Regions from separate parts of the Homo sapiens genome. Here region 1 is linked to region 2. Evidence: promoter capture Hi-C in 16 types of primary human blood cells and fetal thymus (Javierre and others, 2016). All regions are on one chromosome and are shown on one strand. Each heading gives the region's core, a stretch centred on a gene start or on the middle of the fragment in contact. The rest is flanking DNA. Distances are from core to core; before and after follow the strand shown. Region 1 holds the start of LOC105376136 (a long non-coding RNA gene). Region 2 holds the start of HNRNPK (heterogeneous nuclear ribonucleoprotein K).

What was found. The method cuts DNA at HindIII sites, captures the fragments that hold promoters and counts their contacts. A CHiCAGO score of 5 or more calls a contact.
Region 1: a contact is called between a fragment that was not itself captured here and the fragment with the promoter of HNRNPK in region 2, in 3 of 17 cell types (total CD4 T cells, naive CD8 T cells and activated CD4 T cells). The highest score is 13.2, in total CD4 T cells.

The regions. Positions count from the first base shown.
Region 1 is chr9:89,304,690-89,311,230 of GRCh38, forward strand. It overlaps LOC105376136 (a long non-coding RNA gene), which reads right to left and starts at 6,113. Exons shown (of 3, transcript XR_930101.4): 1 at 4,677-6,113; 2 at 4,169-4,257. It overlaps CKS2 (CDC28 protein kinase regulatory subunit 2), which reads left to right and starts at 6,506. Exons shown (of 3, transcript NM_001827.3): 1 at 6,506-6,541. RefSeq lists silencers at 132-391, 5,812-6,041 and an enhancer at 6,052-6,341. The HindIII fragment of the contact is 2,628 bases long and covers 2,928-5,555 here.
Region 2 is chr9:83,978,063-83,984,400 of GRCh38, forward strand. It overlaps HNRNPK (heterogeneous nuclear ribonucleoprotein K), which reads right to left and starts at 2,153. Exons shown (of 17, transcript NM_031263.4): 1 at 2,091-2,153; 2 at 311-390; 3 at 133-217. The coding sequence starts at 190. RMI1 (RecQ mediated genome instability 1) reads left to right here and starts at 2,743. Exons shown (of 3, transcript NM_001358291.2): 1 at 2,743-2,829. RefSeq lists enhancers at 1,427-1,586, 2,407-2,456, 2,416-2,923, 2,497-2,556, 2,687-2,756 and 2 more and silencers at 2,127-2,266, 3,077-3,156. The HindIII fragment of the contact is 2,357 bases long and covers 1,100-3,456 here.

The DNA of each region.
Region 1 (6,541 bases), core at 2,992-5,491, 5.3 Mb after region 2:
GTGGTGTAACATCACTTCAGCCACATTCCACTGGCCAAAGCAAGTCATAAAACCAGACCAAGGGTGAAGAAATACACTTCGCTTATCTATGGAAAGAGTAGTCAAGTTGCTTTGCAAACGAGCATGCATACTAGGATAGGAAGTATTTGTGGCAATAATTTCAGTTGTACCCCAAGGAGGCATGCAGTACTTGAAGCATCTAATTTTGCTACTGCAGATGGTAACAGAAACAAAGTGACTGTAGCCAATAGTTCTGGTAATGGACTCCTAATCTCTTTCAACTTCCTAAATTTATCAGCAGCTGCAAAGGTAAGTGCCTTAGCATGCACTAACTTCCCTCTTAGCCTCTCTCTACTAGCCACGTTAGTTTCTGAACTGGTAACGATAAACATTATTTGCATCTATGCTTTTTTAGACAACAGTAAAACTTTGCTTTCTTCTTATATATTTTGCATTGTTGTAGTGAATTTATTTTTATTCTTTTATCCAATACATTCTAAACAGTAACCCATTTTCTTCTTGGATCCAGTAAGGCTTTTGAGGTTGCCATTGTCAATCTATTCTTGCTGCTTTGTAGGTGATCTGCGATTTCTCCGTGGAAGCTTTTAAAATTTTCCTTTCTCTTTGATCTTCCTAAATTGCACTATAATCTTTCTGTGGTTATATATTTTTTATCTCTACTGTTCAGCACTCTATAAGCACTTTCAATCTAAAGTATTTTATCTTTCTTTAAAACTAGGGAATTCACGGCCATTATTTGTACAAGTATTTCCTCCCTTCTGTTTATTTTTTCTCTCCCTTTGGGACTCTTCTTTAATGACAGTTGTCACCTCTACTTCTAGCCTCCATGTCTTTATACTTCATATTTACCATCTCTTTATTCCTTCCTAATGCTTTCTGGGGCTGGTATTCAACATAATCTTCTAGTTCAATAATTAGCTCTTCATTTGTATCCACTGTGCATTCAGTTTACTTACTAAATTTTTTATTTCAGCTATTTAGTTTTCAATAATATTTCCATGTGACTTTTCCTTAAGACTGAAGTTACTAAGATCTTTTCAGCTCTTTTATATTTACAACTTATATTCATAGTTGTAAAAAAGTTTGGAATTAACTATAAAACTGAAAGGCTTTAAAGCATTTGATGAAATACAGTGTCTATTTTTGATCAAAATTCAGCAAGCTAGGAATAAAAGAATTTTTAAAATGAGAAAGGGCATCTACAATTACAAAGCTGCAGCGAACATCACACTGTGATATTGTTTCTATTCTATTAGTCACATGTAGTTTATAGGTACAGAGGTCAGACGTCCAAAATAGGTCTGACTAGGCTAAAATTATGTCAGCAGGACTGAGTTCACTCTGGAGACTCTAGGGAAGAAATCTGTTTCTTTTTCCCAGCTTCAAAAAGCCACCTGCAGCACTTGCCTCGTGGTCACATTACTCTGACTTCTGTTTTTATCCCAGCTCCTTTACAGACCCTCCTGTCTCCCTCCTCTAAGGCCCCCTGTGATAACATTTGACCACTCTGATAATCCAAGATAATCTCCCTATCTTAAAATCCTTAATTTAATCACATTTGTAAAGTCTCTTTTGCTGTGTAAGGTAACATTCACAGATACCAAAGATTAGGATATGAGCATTGCTGTGGTTTGAATGTGTCCCCCAAATTTCACGTGTTGGAAACTTAATCCCCAAATTTATATGTTTATGGTATTTGGAGGTGGGGCCTTTGGGAGGTAATTAAGATTAAAGTCATCAGGGTGGGGCTCCCATGACGGGACTGTGGCTTTATAAGAAGAGGAAGAGACACCTGAGCCGGCTGGCCCTTGCCCTCCCTCCATGGGATGCCCTCCACCATGTTATGATGCAGTAGAAGGCCTTCACCAGATGTTGCCCCTCTACCTTTGACTTCCCAGCCTCCAAAATGGTAAGAAATAAATTTCTTTTCTTTATAAATTACCCAGGCTGTGGTAGTCCTTTATACCAACATAAAATTGACTAAGACAGACATCTTTGGGGGCCATTTTTCTACCACATTCATCCTCCTACATTCACTTCCCACAACTTTCCTTTCCATGACTTTTACAATCTAAGCCAAACCTATTCAGCATTTTCTGTGTGTACCACACTTCCTCACACCTTTACAACTACCAATCCTTCCTTTGGAAAGGTGCTTGGCCCTCCTGGCTTTCTACCTGTGGAACTCTAAGAGACAGAACAGAATAGTGGGTAAGAGGCCTAACTCTGGAGTCAGACAGTTTGGGCTCAAATATGAGTCTGCCACTTACTAGGAATTTTTGGTAAATGGTTTTGTTTTGTTTTAACCTAGATCTAAATGCCAGATTGTAACAAATACAAGAAATAGAAAAACCAGGGAAACTGCACCACAAGGAAACAATTACACAGATCCAGAATGTGTAACGTTCCACAGGCAAAAATGACCTGGTTTGATGAACAGATGTTAAAAAAGGTGGCAGGGGTGTGTGTGGGGAGGGTGTCTATGTAGGTAGAGGTTGGGGGGTTGTTTAAAGAAGACTAAAAGAGACAATAACAAAATGTGGTCGGGTGCGGGGGCTCACGCCTGTAATCCCAGCACTTCGGGAGGCTGAGGCAGCCGGATCATCTGAGGCCGTGAGTTCAAGACCAGCCTGACCAATATGGAGAAACCCCATCTCTACTAAAAATACAAAATTAGCTGGGCATGGTGGAGGGCACCTGTAATCCCAGCTACTTGGGAAGCTAAGGCAGGAGAATTGCTTGAACACAGGAGGCAGAGGCTGCAGTGGGCAGATATCGCGCCATTGCACTCCAGCCTGGGCAACAAGAGTGAAACTCCATCTCAAAAAAAAAAAAAAAAAGAGAGACAATAACAAAATGCAAGATGTAGGCCCAAGTTTGAAAGCAGGGTTAAACAAACTATAAAAAGCTTTGGTGAGGCAGTCAGGGAAATGTGAGTCTAAAACAGCTATCAAAGAGTATTAAGGACGTCTAAGCGTAAGTATGATGTGGTTATGCATTTTTTAAAAAATTTTCCTGAGATGCACACCATAAACACAGAGATACACTGAAAAGTTTTATTTAGGAGTGAACTGACATATCTGAGATCTCTTCAGTAATATTCTAGAAAAAAAAAGTTAGAGAGGAACAGATGAAACATGATTGGCAAACGGTAATTGCTGAAGCTAAATGACTGGAACAAGTTGAGTATCCCTTACCCAAAACACTTGGGACCAGAAGTGTTTCAGGGTTTTTTGGAATCTGGAATATGGGCATTTTGTTAACCAGTTCAGTATCTCTAATAGGAAAATCTGAAATCTGAAGTGCTCCAATGAGCATATCCTTTGAGCTCATGTCAGTGTTGTTCAACGTTTTGGACTTTTGGAGCATTTCAGATTTTCAGATTAAAGATGCACAACCTGTACATGGGAGTTGATTCTATTATTCCATGTGTTTGAACTTTTCACAGTGCAGATGGTCCTTGACTTACAATGGTTCAACTTAAAATTTTTTTGACTAGTCAGGATGTAATCCCATTGTAAATTAAGGAGCATCTATACATTTATTTAAAAATATATCTCCCAGGAAGTTTTTTTCCCCCAGGTTCTGCCAGAAAGTAATTTCCTTGTCCATTTTCCTTAACAGTTTATTCACATTTTTGCCATCATAGTAATTATACCTAATTATTTACTCTTATTATACTGTGCCTAAAATTTACTTCTTATTGTGTGCTTATGTGCAAGGAACTCTGCTATGTGCTAGGCACTCCGTGGTGAACAAGACAGACATGGCCTCTACACTAGCTTCACAGAGTTGTTTTTTTTTTTTTTGAGACGGAGTCTCGCTCTGTCGCCCAGGCTGGAGTGCAGTGGCACAGTCTTGGCTCACTAACAGAGAGTATTTTATAGCGCAGATAGGGAGACAACCACCACCTAAGCAAACATGCAATTGCGACAGTGGGAGGGAAGCCCACTGGAGTCGGTGGCAAGGGCATAATGGGGAAATTGAAGAACTTTCTGTAGAGAAGTTGATTAAGGAAGGCCTTTCAGAAGATGAAATGCTTAATCTGAGACCTGAAGGATTCTATCATGTATGAACGAATGTTTGTGTCTGCTCCCAGCCACCAAATCATGCGTGGAAATTCCAGGCCGGGTGTTGTGGCTCATACCTGTAATTCTGTTACAGGAAAGGGGTCCAGTCCAGATCCCAAGGGAGAATTCTTGGATCTCGTGCAAGAAAGAATTCAGGGTGAGTCCACTGTGCAAAATGAAAGTAAGTTTATTAAGAAAGTAAAGGAATAAAAGGATGGCTACTCCATAGACAGAACAGCCGAGGGCTGCTGGTTGCCCATTTTTATAGTTATTTTTTGCTTATATGCTAAACGAGGGGTGTATTATTCATGCCTCCCCTTTTTAGACCATGTAGGGTAACTTCCTGATGTTGCCATGGCATTTCTAAACTGTCATGGCACTGGTGGGAGTGTAACAGTGAGGACCAAAGTCACTCTCTTCGCCATTTTGGTTTTGGTGGGTTTTGGCTGGCTCCTTTGCTGCAACCTGTTTCATCAACAAGGTCTTTATGACCTGTATTTTGTGCTGACCTCCCATTTCATCCTGTGACTTAGAATGCCTTAACTGTCTGGGAATGCAGCCCAGTAGGTTTTAGGCTCATCTTACCCAGCTCCTGTTTAAGATGAAGGTGCTCTGGTTCACTTGCCTCTGACGATCCCAGCACTTTGCGAGGCCAAGGCGGGCAGTTCACTTGAGGTCAGGAGTTCGAGACCAGCCTGGCCAAAATGATGAAAACCCGTTTCTACTAAAAATACAAAAACTAGCTGGGCCTGTAATCCCAGCTGCTCTGGAGGCTGAGGCAGAATGGCTTGAACCTGGGAGGGGGAGGTCGCAGTGAGCCAAGATCACACCACTGCACTCCAGCCTGAGCAGCAGAGTGAGACTGTCTCCAAAAAAAAAAAAGGGCGGGGGGTGGAATTCCAAACACCCTCTTCCCCCAAGAAGTGATTGTATTAGGAAGTTAGGAGGTGGGGCCTTCGGGAGGTAATCAAGATTAGATGGTCATGAGGGTGGGGCCCTCACCCATGGAGATTATAAATGTCCTTAGCCGGCCTGTCTCACTTGTTCAGAAACCGGAAAAGTCCGTGGTCTGCAGTGTGGAAAAGGGCACCCGGACCTCTTACTTCCAGCCTCTAGTCTGGAAACTTTGTCTAAGGTACCCCATCTACATTACTTAGTCACAGCCACCCTGAACCCACTAGCCTGTACTGCGCTGGAGCATTTCGCATAAAATGAAATTAACATAAAAATGACACGTGCTCGTTGTGGAAAAAATACCAAAAAGATCACTTTTAATTCTGTCATCTAAAAATAACCACCAGTTACATTTATAAATTTCTTCCAGTAACTTTTTTATATGAACATGTTTTTAAACTTGGGTCAATATTAAAAGACCAGAAGTTGTTAAACATCATTTTAAATCCCCTTATCCAGGAATTAGCATTGTTATTCTTGGCCGCAGCAGAATATTATTTTATTCCCTCAAGCTTTCCATGGCTTGGGTCTGCCCTGGTTTTGAACATTAGGTTAGGCTACAGAAAGCATTCTGGGTCTCTGGCCCATTTGTTTCTTTCTTTGTGGAGACGGGGTCTGGCTCTGTTGCTCAGGCCTGTCTGGAACTCCTGGGCTCAAGCGACACTCCACCTCGGCCTCCCGAGTGGCTGGGACCACTGGCGCCCGCCGCCACCGCGCCGGCTCCGGGCCTCTCTCTACGCGTGGCTCCGCAGGCTCCATTCTCCACACAGTCGTCTAGGGGGGCGCCAGGAGCCCCGCGACGGGCCAGGCCGGAAGCTCAGCAAGTGCACCAGGCGGCGAAACGGCCGGCTGCGCAGGGCAGCCCCGGACACAGCCACGCCGCGGCCGCCCGGCGCTCCCCCGACCCAGCCGACCACGAAGCCGCCCTCCCCCTCACACCGCAGAACCTTTCTGCCTTTTACTACTTTTCAAAGTGGACCTAGGCTCCTGGCTCGAGCCTGAGGGGATACAAGGGATCACGAGGAGCGCCATCACCGTGCAAGGTCGACAGCTTCCGCTCAAAGCCCTGTGGCCCACGCTTCCGGCCTCGACCGACTACGTCATCACCAAACCCCGTGATACCTCACTCCACCTTCAGGTCCTCCGTCCCAACGGTTCCGTGTCCTGGAACTTTCCACGTTCCTGCGCACGCGCTCTGCGGCCCTTAACGTCCCGACTTCGCCCTCCTCTGGCCACGCCCCTGCCCGTTAAGGGCCCTGCCACCCCCGTGACGTACCTATCTTCCCTCGGGCAACCTCGCAACAGATCTCTGATTGGCTGACCCAGGAAGCGGACTTTGCGAGGCGGCGGCGACGATAGGCTGGCAGCCGGCCGACTTCCGCAGAAGGTGATTGGTCGGCGCTGCTGTCCAATCGGCGGCGGGCTGTCGGATTCAAATCCGGATCGTTGGGACTGCGGTCGTTAGTCTCCGGCGAGTTGTTGCCTGGGCTGGACGT
Region 2 (6,338 bases), core at 903-3,402:
ACTGATAATCGCAGAATTACATAAACAGTAATACCAAAAATTCACCACACACTCCTAAGGCAATAATTAACAGAAAAAGGCAATTTATTAACAGGATAAAAAAATACTGTTAAAACTAAAATTTCTTCTCACCAAATTCACCATTGGTTTCAGTGTTAGGGAAGGTTTCTTCTGGCTGTTCAGTTTCCATATTCTTTTATTAAACGGGCACACCAATCTGTGGAAAAATAAAGCAGCTAGTACATTTGGCTTATTGGAAAGCAAGCTGTAAAAAAAAAAAAAAAAAAAAGACATTGCTTCTAGAACGTACCAGTTATTATATATCCTTGCAGAGCAGAACTGAAGCGTTCTGGGTCGGACCAACAACTGACACCCCAGTGCTGCAGTAGCCTATAAGAACCAACACAAATCAGTTTTGCTTTTGTTTATTCTTATTACTGAATATTTGTTTCCGATCACAGTGAATACTGATTTGAACCCAAAAAACCAGCTGTTTCTAAAACTTGATTCTTCATTTTAGGGTTTCACAATTCAAATGACTGCCTAAAAAATACAAAATTCAAGGGAGCCTGGTTTCATTTTTTGCTAAGTTAGAACAATAACTTTTAGCCACTGGATTAAGTCCCACCACAGCAATGAATTGTTTTATACGGCACATTCCCAAAACCCTGAAAAGATAAATGTCATCCACAAAGCATACATTTATGAAAAGTTACAATGCATCTTATTCACTGGGAAAACTAATTTTATATTAAAACTTCCAATTGCTTTCCTATTTCTTTCGACTCATGCTTGAAGCGATCTTATGTGACATCTCTAAAGTTTACAAATACAACGGCAATTGCGAACACATCCAACAACCAGAACAATCTACCGGAGGGATAAATCCAAAAATCTAATATAGGACCAGACCCAAACTACCACAATACCAGTCTATTATTAATCAGCGAAACAAATGGAGCCCTTGAAAACTAACAGTCACTAGCGGATTATTTTAAATTAGGCTTAAGGGAGTACAACACAACAATCATGCCTGTAACACGAAAACTAAAGTGTCTACGTGCCAAAACGGTCGATAGGACTACAAACAGCCTTTTTAAGCTTCCCTCTTGTCGGGACTAGGAGTTGACAAGCGGCCTCTACTAGAAGGTTGGCTAGACAGCAAAGAGCCAACAAGCGAGGCACATTTATGCCTCCCATTCTCCCATACCGTTGGTCGACTTATTGCTCTCCTAACGACAACTGAAACGACATCCTTCCGGCCCAGCACGCAATTTCTGAGGTGTGGTGGGAGAAGAGTTGGATAAGAAAGTTTAAGCAAAAACAGCAGGGCTTATCTGTAAGAATAACGTTGCCGCTTGCCGTTCACCCTTCGGGTCCTGCAGTCACTAGTCCCCAGGCCTCAAAAATCCGCTAAGTATGTGCTCCACTGGCCGAGCGCCAACGCGCCCTCCCCTCCCCGCCTCCCGGCACCGAGATCAAAAACAGCCGGGTAACAGGACGGGAAAAAGCGAAAGTCGACAGCAGAAGCACCGCACCTCTCCTCACCCGGATCCGACAGGAAATGGCGGCCCGCGTAATGGCGACTACGTGCTACTAGGCGGAGCCGAGCGCCGACCCCCTCCCCCACCCACCACGCGGTCCCGAGGTCTCATCCCCCGCATCCTCCCCCCACTGCCCGAGACAAAGCCATCGAGGCAGCCCTGACCGTTCCATCCCCGCCGCTCCAGCTCCGACCCCGGGCCGGGAGACCCAAGGTGAGGCGGGGCTCACACAAAGAGAGCGGCGGCGCGACCTTCTCCCCGCACCGGCCTCCTTTCCTCCACGAGGTCCCTAGTTCCCAGTGCCACATAGCTCCAGCTCATCCTAGAGGCACATGCCTCACGAATCCCCAAGTCTCTAGGACCACAACGCGGACTGCGGATACACGCTCAGGGAAATGGCGGAGGTGGGGGAGGGGACACCGGGCAACGTTCCCACTCGGAGAAGCGGCCAAACACCAAAGCGGCTCCCAGGACGCCTCCCTCAAGCGGAAAAACTGGGCTCCGACCCTCACCTCCACGAGCCGCTCCCCCAACCCGGCTCCTCACCGCGCGAGACTGCCGTCCCTCCGCTGCCGCGCCGCCTCAGCCGGTCGGAGCTAGACAGAAAACGAGCGCAGGCTCCCCTCCCCCGCCTTCTCGCGTCCTCCCCGCCGTCGCGCCCTATTGGCTGCCAGGGCTTCAGCGATGGTGCGAGGGCGAAGCGATTGGCCCGAGGCCACGTCAATCAAGGCGACGGAGGAGGCGACAACCCCGCCTCCCGCCAGCGCCTCCCTTCGGGCTGGGAGGCCACTAAGGGCTCGAGAAAACCCGGGCTTGGGAAAAGTAAACGCAGCCTTTCAGGGAGCCCCAACCCTTACCCGAATCAGCAATACCCAAGCTCCAATAACTCCAATTACCTATAGGCCGCGAACAAGTGGGACACAGGCAAGACGTCGAGGTCGGTGCAGCAGAGAAACAGAGGATAATGGCGTCTGCAGTGCTGTCGCCTGGAGCGCCCTCCTCCTTTCTCGTTCGCGCACTCACTAGCTGGGGGGAGGGGCGGCTAGGGGGCGAACCTCTCGCGAGATCTAACAACTGCCTAGTTCACGCGCACAGGGAGGGGGCGGGGAAGGGGCGTTTTCCAGCCCCGAAGGAGTCCTTTGGGGTTGGAGGAGGGGCGCGAGCGCGCGGCAAATCGGGCGGGAAGAGGTAAAAAAGGAACTGGGAGCGCGCCGCGGCGGTTCCTGTCCTTACAGTTGCGCTGCCCAGGGACCGATGTTGCGCGAGGAAAATGCGGGACGCCCAGGTCGGTGCTCGGCCCAGACTTATGCCCGTGTTTTCACAGCCCACACTCGTGCCCGAAGCCCCTTACCCCGCCCCGGGCTGTGGTCTGTGGGCTGTGGGACGAGCTGCGGCGCGGTAAGTGCGGGCCGTCTGCGTCCGCTGGGCCGGGCCCACGCTTCGGAAACCCGTTGTTTGTAATGGTCCGGGGCGCCCGTCAGTCAAGGCCGGGCCCGGGGGCGCAGCTGGCGGTTCTCGGCCTGCCTTGCGCCGGGGCGGGAGCCGGGGAAACGCGGGGCGAGCCTGGGAGTACTGGAGAACTTCTCGCCGAGAGGGCACAGGCGGTTTCACAGGGCTCTCGGTTCTGAGACTTTCCTCTTGGGTAATGGGACCTGAGATGGAAGTATTTTGTAGTGTCGTCGCTGTAGTTTATTCCGATAAAATTTTTAGGCAATATGTATTGCCCTTGTCTCCTAAAATGAATGCGTATCGCTGAATACGTTGCAGACCTCCACGTTCCATTCAAAGCGCCTGCCTTGTGGCAGTGATGAAAACAGACAAAAACCCTTGCCCTCAAACGTGCTCCTGTTCTAGCGGGTTCAGCGCACACTTGCATTGTATTCGGTTCCTTACTTTTAAGGCTCCTGTGCCAAGCTTTCATGACTTCCTTTGTTAAGGCACATAAGGTCACTTTCAATCGGTGACAGCCCTGGGAAATCTCCAGCCCTGGTAGTACCCGCTTTCCACATCCTTACTCGTCAACCTTCCAGCCTCCGCCCACAATCCCAAACTCATTTTGAAGCATAAAGGTGTCATAATCTGCACATAAAGCGAAATCCACCATTGGCCGAATACATGCATATATTTTAGTGTTGATGAATTTGTGCTGATTCATTCCTGTTATAATGTTTCCTTCTTGGGTAATTTGCAAAACATATATACCAGCATTCTTTTAAATGGCCATGATTGCATCCACCCAGCATCTTTTACTTGACTGATTAGAGGAAAACTCTTGTTAGGGCGCACTGAGGATTTCATGACAAACACCAGTATTTACATTCTGGGAGGATACGTTAACACATGCTGTTAGAACATAATGTCCGGGATTGTGGAATTTATAAAAGTTCTCTTTAAGTGATAATATAATTTTTTAAATGGTCCCCACCATGAAGAGTGTATAGTCTTGTTGGGTAGGTAAAACTTAACTCGCATTTCAGTTCTAAAACACAAAGTTCAGAATTTTATTAAATATTCAAAACTGATGAGTTTATGTAGGGGCTTAGGATACTTGGATTATAGAGATTTAATCCGCCAGTTAGTATTTGCAACATTTAATTGAGTTTGTCATTTAAAACCTGAGACATGTCACTGACACTAATATGCACAAATAGCGGTACGGTAATGATGATGCTGTGCTTTCTTTCAAATTAGGATTTATGTTGCAGTCATCATTTTCTTGATAAGGAATGATGAGTGGGAATCACAAGTAAGCAGCCCTATATAAGAACCTCTTCCGGCCGGGCACGGTGGCTCACGCCTGTAATCCCAGCACTTTGGGAGGCCGAGGCGGGCGGACCACAAGGTCAGGAGATCGAGACCATCCTGGCTAACATTGTGAAACCCCGTCTCTACTAAAAAGACAAAAAAAAAAATTAGCCGGGTGTGGTTGCAGGAGCCTGTAGTCCCAGCTACTCAGGAGGCCGAGGCAGGAGAATGGCGTGAACCCGGAAGGCTGATCTTGCAGTGAGCCGAGATCGCGCCACTGCACTCCAGCCTGGGCGACAGAGCGAGACCCTGTCTCAAAAACAAAAACAAAAACAAAAAAAAAAACCTCTTCCTCCCAGTTTCATTGTCCAGACTGGACCCCGACTGGTGTAAATTATTCATCCCCTCTAGATGCCATTGTGGGATGGTTGCTATTTTTCCCCCCATTTGATTTCTTCTTTACGTCTTTTTAATTTTTAGGTTTGCTCTTTAAATAACAGGAAAGTCTTTTTTCTCCATCCTTTTATTCTCTGTTTGAAATTAAGACTTTTCAACCCAATAATTTTATACCTGTGTTCATTCAAGAACTTAACAATACATTCATTGACTCCAGTCTTGTGTAATTGGTACAATGGTGTAATGGTGTAGTGATCACTTTGGACTCAGTGAATTTAGACCCAATATTACTTAGATGGGGGATTTACTTTAGATGGGCTAATATAATTGAGAATGTACACTATCCAGCTGCATTATTGTTTAAAATAGTATTTATAACTACTATTTCCTGAGTTCCCCACTGTGTGCTAAACGTTGTGCTGGCAGTTTAATACTTTTTAGAGTTCTTTGAGCAAGTTGTTAGTTATCTTTGTTTTGTGAACGAATGAACTAGCACTAAGAGAAGCTAAGGAACATATCCAAGGTCACATAGCAAAATGGGGTTCCAGATTCTCTTTCTGTCTTTTCCTTACTTTAGGTTATGGAGGATCCATAAAAATCTCCTCTGATTACTTCTTCTAATTTCAGTCATATACGGTATAAATTTTTCCTCCCTAATTTTCGGAGTATCTTCTCAAAAATTCCAGGATTACCTTGAACTCATCCTCAATGAATTAAAATGTAGACTTACCTTTATTGTTTAGATGAAGATAATGGAACTGTGGAGTAGATTTAAATATTCGTTAGTGCTTTTAAGTCTCAGCTATTGTCAGAATGACACACGTAAGGTCCAAAAGGATGACACTCCTGCCTCGCTTTTTATTAAAAAAAAATTGGAATATATGAGGCTGACTGAAAATTAATCTGTAAATCAAATATGCCTAGACCTTCGTGGTAGGTGATAAAATTTTCCCACTTTATTTTCTTTTGTTCAGTTCCTGGCAGTACAGATCTAGAATGCAGATTAGTGTGGTCAGCCAAGTTTATCATTCATACAATGCTAATCAGCTTTCTTAAAAATGTTTTTTCCTGATTATAAAATTAATGGGGATTAAGCTGTATGTAATTTTATATGTGTTCTTTTTCCCAACAAAATGTGAATGTATTTCTTTGTCATTAAATAATTCTTAAAAATGGTTTCTTTAAAGATTTCATAGCTTTTCATTTCATGGTGGTAGTGCTATGTATTTAACTTTTTTTCCCATTTTGAACATTTTGTTTTTTTCAAAATATAAAAACTCAGTGGTAAACTCTCTGCCACATAAATCTTTGTCTTTATTTATTTTGTTACTTATTGATGCATAAAAGATGTACATAGTTTTGGGGTATATGTGATAATTTAATATATTCACTTAATTTGTAAAGATCAAATCACAGTACCGGGGATATTATCTCCTTAAATATATGGCTTTTCTTTGTCCTTATTTATGATTATGTCCTTAATTCTGGAAAGTAAAAGAAGTGGATAATATGGTATGAACATACCTTTTTTTTTTTTTTGAGACTGAGTTTCGTTCTTGTTGCCTATGCTGGAGTGCAGTGGCGCAATCTCGGCTCACTGCAACCTCTGCTTCCTGGGTTCAAACGATTCTCCTGCCTCAGCCTCCCGAGTAG